Linked DNA regions of Homo sapiens: region 1 is linked to region 2. Evidence: promoter capture Hi-C in 16 types of primary human blood cells and fetal thymus (Javierre and others, 2016). All regions are on one chromosome and are shown on one strand. Each heading gives the region's core, a stretch centred on a gene start or on the middle of the fragment in contact. The rest is flanking DNA. Distances are from core to core; before and after follow the strand shown.

What was found. Contacts are between HindIII fragments. The CHiCAGO score rates a contact against its expected background, and 5 or more counts as called.
Region 1: a contact is called between a fragment that was not itself captured here and the fragment with the promoter of TEX12 in region 2, in 1 of 17 cell types (neutrophils). The highest score is 6.2, in neutrophils.

Annotation. Positions count from the first base shown.
Region 1 is chr11:112,132,518-112,135,965 of GRCh38, reverse strand. No RefSeq gene overlaps it. Among named protein-coding and RNA genes, the nearest start is that of IL18, 30 kb to the left of the region's middle. The HindIII fragment of the contact is 8,771 bases long and covers 1-3,448 here.
Region 2 is chr11:112,166,098-112,169,541 of GRCh38, reverse strand. TEX12 (testis expressed 12) reads right to left here and starts at 2,170. Exons shown (of 5, transcript NM_031275.4): 1 at 2,055-2,170; 2 at 211-289. The coding sequence starts at 273. TEX12-AS1 (TEX12 antisense RNA 1) reads left to right here and starts at 2,399. Exons shown (of 3, transcript XR_001748384.2): 1 at 2,399-2,479; 2 at 3,366-3,444. The HindIII fragment of the contact is 2,594 bases long and covers 300-2,893 here.

The DNA of each region.
Region 1 (3,448 bases), core at 806-3,305, 33 kb after region 2:
TGACATAGCAAGACCCTGTCTCTAAAATAAAAAAAATTACATTAAAAAATTTTTTAAAGAAGGAAACTAAAGGATTGAGTCATGCCCTTTTCTTTCTTTTTCTTTCTTTCTTTCTTTCTTTCTTTCTTTTTCTCACTCTTTCTTTCTCTCTCTCTCTCTCTCTTTCTTTCTTTTCTTTTCTATTTTTGAGACAGGGTCTCACTCTTGTCACTCAGACTGGACTGCGGTGGCATGATCATGGTTCACTGTAGCCTCAAACCTGTGGACTTAAGGGATTCTCCCACCTCAGTCTCTCGAGTAGCTGGGACTACAGGTGTGCAAGGTAATGCCCTGCTGACTTTTTTATTTTTTGTAGAGACAATGTTCCACTATGTTGCCCAGGCTGGTTTTAAACTCCTGGGCTCAAGTAATCCTCCCACCTCGGCCTCCCAAAGTGCTGGGATTATAGGTGTGAGCCACTGCACCCAACCCCATTCATTTTCTCAGCTTCTTTGGTCTCGCTTCTTTATATGTTGACTTCTTATAATATGATGTGGACATTTAAAGATGCAGTGTGAAATGATGAAATGAGGAGAATGGGTTTTGCAGACACACAACCTTGTTTTATATCTTGTTCCATAACCCAAGGCTTGTCCCAAAACCAAGTACAAAGTGTACTTTGGACACAATCTCTCTGAGGCTTGGTTTTCTTACATGTAAATGGGAATGATAAGAAATACCTACCTCATAAGATGGTTGTACGGATTAAATGAGATAAAGCTCCCAGTGGTATCTGGTACTGGAACACCATAGCTAAGAAGTATTATTTCCCGGCCGGGCGCGGTGGCTCACGCCTGTAATCCCAGCACTTTGGGAGGCCGAGGCGGGTGGATCATGAGGTCAGGAGATCGAGACCATCCTGGCTAACAAGGTGAAACCCCGTCTCTACTAAAAATACAAAAAATTAGCCGGGCGCGGTGGCGGGCGCCTGTAGTCCCAGCTACTCGGGAGGCTGAGGCAGGAGAATGGCGTGAACCCGGGAAGCGGAGCTTGCAGTGAGCCGAGATTGCGCCACTGCGGTCCGCAGTCCGGCCTGGGCGACAGAGCGAGACTCCGTCTCAAAAAAAAAAAAAAAAAAAAAAAGAAGTATTATTTCCCTTCCTACACTTCTCCATACACCCACCACTCACCCCCACCAGACCTCACACACTACACATCACGTGCAGGAGAGAAAAGAGGCCTTTCCTCCCTACAAGAACTAATCCCACCCTGTTTTATGTCATTTCTCTTCCTGCACTGTGTAAACTCATTTCCCACCCTAAAGGAATAAAAGCATCATTGCCTCCTGTCTTTCTGGCTCGTAGCCGTATGTTGCTTTTGCCCTATCTTTCAACACATGGGCTTTATAACTGAAAGAAAATGTCAGGACATAAAAGCCTGCTTTGTTTTGCATGTTTGTTTTCCAAATTTTACACTTTTGATTTTGTTGCACACACACACACACACACACACACACAAATCCAATTTTACCTAATCCATAGAAAATAGCACTTCACAGCTTGGAATTTTGCTAAATCTATGATCGTTTCCAGATTCACAAAACCCATATAACTGAACAAATTTTTTACTCACATCTGCAGTCCTGCTCAAAATTTAGCCTTGATTTTTTCTTCTGATGGTGATAGCAAACGTTCATGGATGGGTCCTTAGGAGTGGACCGTGTCTTTTGTCTAGGACTTAAATTCAATGTATCTCACAGAGCTCAGTTCAGGGAACTAGGAAGTAAAAAACAATCAAAGGTGTAATCCCAGCCCTTTGGGAGGCTGAGGTGGATGGATCACCTGAGGTCAGGAGTTCAAGACCAGCCTGGCCAGCATGGTGAAACCCCATCTCTCCTAAAATACAAAAATTAGTCAGGTGTGGTGGTGCGTGCCTGTAATCCCAGCTACTCGAGAGGCTGAGGCACATGAATCGCTTGAACCTGGGAGGCAGAATTTGCAGTGAGCTAAGATCGTGCCACTGCACTCCAGCCTGGGTGACAGAGCAAGACTCTGGTCTCAAAAAATAAAAAACAACAACAACAACAAAAATCAAAGGCATAGGCAAATTTGTGTCAAGATGCTGTGACATTCCACCTTCCCCCACAGAATCCCTCAACTGATACACAAAGAAAGCACTTTCTCTTTTTGGTTCTTAGACTGCAGTATGAACTACAAGACATTTTCAGAATCATTAACTCACTTTTTTAAAGCCTTTAATTAAAAAAAAAAAAAAAAAGATGGTTGGAGATATGTCCAGAAAGCTCTCAAATATCATATTTCTCCTAACACAATGCCTTTCAAGACTGGAGGCACACATTGGGGCAGAGCCTTGGGCCTTCCACCGGGACCCTGCAACAGGAGGGATAAGAGCAAGCACAAAGGGAGAGGAGGACTTCTGGGTGGCTGGTTGGGAAAGACTTCACAGAAAAAGTGTCACTTAAGCTAACCCATGAAGGACAAGAAGAATTTCTGAAGACACATGTGAGGAAGGACTGTTTCCTTCGAGCACGGGAACTTGGATTTGTGGAAGTTCTCTCTGTAGGTCAGAGCCCTAATTGATATAGCAGGTATGAGTCAAAGTCCACAAACTGATGTGTAAGAAATGCAACTTTATTTTCTATATTTTAATTTCTTCTCCAAGTTCTCATTATGCTGAGGGTAGTGGAAACTCAATCTGAGTAATCGCTGGGTGCCCCTCTTTCTACATAGTTGTATGTAAGTTCCACAGGGTAAATAGTACCAAGGTGCCAGGGACAGGGTGAGTAGGGATCTGATCCTTGGTCAATACTGACAATCTCTGAATCTGCTGAGATGTCTGGCTACTGAGCAGAGCCTCACTATTGTCCACAAAGCCCTTTTAGGAGCATAGCTGTCTCCATTTCCACAGCTGCTGACCCAGGATCCATTTCACCACCTCCGTGATAATGACAGGCAGGTGATTGGGGTGGGATTGGCATCCACCACCACCCCTCCCTTCTGAGGCAGGAGATCAGCAGGACTTGCTTCCCAGGCACCAGTCATGACCCCGCTGAACAAAACAGTCTGGTCAGAACAGGATGTGGTAAAGAACCCAGCTAAAACCAAGATGGTGACAAAAGTGACCTCTAATTACCCTCACTGCTCATTATATGCTAATTATAATGTATTAGCATATGAAAAGACACTCCCACCAATGCCATGACAGTTTACAAACACTATGGCAATGCCCAGAAGTTACCTTATATGCTTTAGAAGGGGAGAAACCCTCTATCCCAGGAATCCTCACACCTTTTCTAAAAAATATGTGAATAACCCACCTCTTATTTAGCATATAATTAAGGAGTAGCTATAAATAATATAGCTAGCTAGCAGGCCAGGTGCGGTGGCTCACACCTGTAATCCCAGCACTTTGGGAGGCCGAGGCAGGTGGATCACCTGAGATCAGGAGT
Region 2 (3,444 bases), core at 921-3,420:
AGAAATCTCCCAATAGTTTCTTGGAGGCCTATACTTAGTGAAAAAGCAGCTGGAATCAACATAGTTCCTCCTATGTTGTAGGACAATCCTAGCTCTGGGCATACGAATACATTAAATCCCACTTATCTATAGAGCTTTCTTAAAGGGAAGAAATTTGAGTAGTATGTAAAACAGAATAAAAGATTAAGGCTCCATAGGCATACAGCTTACCTCCAATTCTCTTGGCCTCTTGCAATTTCTATTATCAGGCTTTACAAGGTGATTTGCCATCATATTCCGAAGGCACCAGCTACAAAGCTTAGAACAATGCCAGATTTAGGTACAAACTCCATGCTACAAGCTCTCTGGAATCCTTCCCTGTTTCCCACTCCTACTGCTGATGTTAATTTAGACTGTCATTATCTGTCACTTTCCTAAACTCAATTTCTCCCTCCTCTAAATCATTCTATCAACTGCTATTTGGGTAATCTTTCAAAACTTTGATTACTGCATTCCTTTAACTCAAAAACTTTCATTGTTCCAGAATAAGTTGAAATTCCATGATATGGCCTTCAAGGTCCTGTATTATCTGGTGCAAGCCTACTAGTCCCATCATTTTCAACTACTCCTCTCTATGTACTTAGCCAAATGAGTCTCTCTGGCAATTCTGCCTTGTTTCAGGACTGGCTCAGTTAAGATTCTTTTATCTTCGGCCGGGCGCGCTGGCTCACGGCTGTAATCCCAGCACTTTGGGAAGCTGAGGCAGGAAGATCACCTGAGGTCGGGAGTTCGAGACCAGCCTGGCCAGCATGGTGAAACCCTGTGTCTACTAAAAATCCAAACATTAGCCAGGCGTGGTGGCAGGCGCCTGTAATCCCAGCTACTTGGGAAGCTGAGGTGAGAGAATCGCTTGAACCCAGGAGAGGGAGGTTGCAGTGAGCCGAGATTGTGCCATTGCACTCCAGCCTGGGCAACAGAGCGAGACTCCACCTCAAAAAAAAAAAAAGGATTCTTCTATCTTCACAAAATCTTAATGTTTAAACAGGTCTTACAGTTCATCTAATTCAATCTCATTTTTTACAAGTGAGAAAACAGGGACAGTGACGGTGGATCAAGTGACACCAGTAAGACTGAGCTAAATTAGAACCGAGATCTCACTCGAGTCTGAGGTTATTCCCACTGTCCAACCTTACTTTAAAGTAGCTTCAAATTTTACTTTTACTTTTCCATAAATTCGGAAGGGATTTTCCCTAGGAGTCCAAATGTTGAAACCTGGAAGGGTATAGTCTCTGTGTCTTTGAGATGAGGGGAGCCCTGTCCATATTCAAGTTATCAATTGACTTTGTTGTTTTTGAGAAACGATGCTGATTTGGGTAACTTTAACACATCTGTTTGATTAGTCCTATAAAATATGCATATATAGAAGACAGAAAGAGCAACAACAAATTTGAATGATGCTTGTTAAGTAAATTCTGTATCGTACGTCTCCATTCCTGCCAGTACCTTTATAGTATGTAAGTTTACGTGCTGTAATAGTATTAATAGTATCTAGAAAATACTACACATGCACAGCAGTGCTAACTTTGCCTTGGGAGTTGGAAAATACTTCAGAGAAGCCAACAGGCAGATTTTTCTCTCTTCCCTTCCCCTTCTAATTTTCCCTTTCCCCTTCACCCCCTTCTCTTCTCTCCCCAAGTAACACTGTGCACCTATGTCAAACGAAAACTTATAATCAAGTAACTGTTTCTGCAAAAATAAGTTCGTTTTCCTGTCATGGCTCAAGGCCTCAGCAGATCCAGGCCTGGTGGACGGGCTGGTCTTCGTCGTGTGCCAAACACTGACCACTGCCCTGGCTCTGCCATCTTAGGCTTAGTGACCTGGCTGTTACTAAGCACTGTCCCCTCTGCCCCATGCAGCTGTCTCCTTCTAGTCTTCTCCCTCTTCTCAACGCGATCCTAGCCCCTCAGGCCATTTCACCTCCATTTTCCCTCACTTCCCGCCGCCCCTCCGCACTTCCTCCCTACTGTTGTTTCCGCCCCACTAGAGCCCCTCAGAGGAAGTTTCCATCCTCGCACCCTTCCTTGTGTCACAGTCCGTCACATTCTCACAGGCGCCCATCCCTCCAGCCCCACCCCAAGGCCAATGTACTTCGCGGTATGGGGACCTTCCTCGTCAGCGAACGCGAGGGAGTGAAGACCCCGGGCGCGGGGTGCTCGGACTTCGGGGGTGGAGGTGGGAAGCGCGCCGCACTCCCAGCAGCCCCTGCACGAGTCACGTGACAGCTCTCCCACCACCACCCCCCCCAACTTCCCCACCGTAGCCTCCCAGAGCCAGGCCCCACGGAAAGGCAGCTTTTTCCCGGTTTTCTCCCGCTCTTTCCCCTCCACTTGGAATACTCGTGAAACAAAAATCTCTCCCTGCCACCCTGTGTGTGTTTGAACCAGGAAAAAATCTGAAACTGGTCAAGAAAGAACAAGGAAGACTTGCCAAAGCAAGGCCGGTGTGTGTCCCAGCAGCTTAGAATCTCAGCAAAGGAACACAAAATAGCACATCCACGGCCTCTTTTCGAGTAAAATTTACTTGGTTTGTTTGCAGGAAGGGTTTAAAACTGCGTTTGCAGATGCTCTGTTTGCAGGAAGGCTTTAATCACGTGTTCCCCTGGCCCACAAGCAAGGCTTTTAGATCCAGAGCCTCAGTTACTGCCCCCTCTTCCTCTTTGGTGCAACCAAACGTTCAGAATCACGCCTTCTTAGAAAATTCTTCCCCGGGTGTGTCAATAAGTTAAGTCTAATTGGCAACAGCTATCAAAAAGTGTTGCATAACACACATGGCTCACATAATTGTAGCTTTGCCTCATCGGGTGCTTTAATGCGGAGGCTTTGACCTGCAATTTCAAAGATATACATTCCAAGCTTACGCCCAGTTAGTGGATGTGGAAGAAAAAAAAAAGCAAATTACCTCATAACACAAAGGTCAATAACACACATCCATAAGCTCCAGGTACAAAATCTTACATCTTAGAGAACTATATTTAACATTTACATACATTACTAAGGTTTTTTTTTTCCTTTTGCTTGATTAAATGTTAGTTATCATTAAGTCTTGGAAGTATTCTGTGTGTGTATATTTATTTGCTGTTTGTGAAGAAGCCGGTTGTTTTAAATAAGTTCCTAGAAAATAAGCGCTCAATGTGTTTAATCTGAGTTGCTAATATTGTGAAATATAGGCCACATAATACTAGCCTAGATAACTATGGCGAAGTAAGGAGTCTCAAACACTGTCCCAGAACAATAGCAATCTGTGTTGAATTTTTACCCTCTGTGGTAAAATGAAGGGAAAAGGAATGAAGTTTTAGTTTGCCTTAATTTTTATCTTTATTGTTTCAGACTCTTCAGCAGTATAAAGTTTTCATCAAGTCAAATATATTCACTTTAAAGTGACTGTGCTTTATTCTGATACCATGTC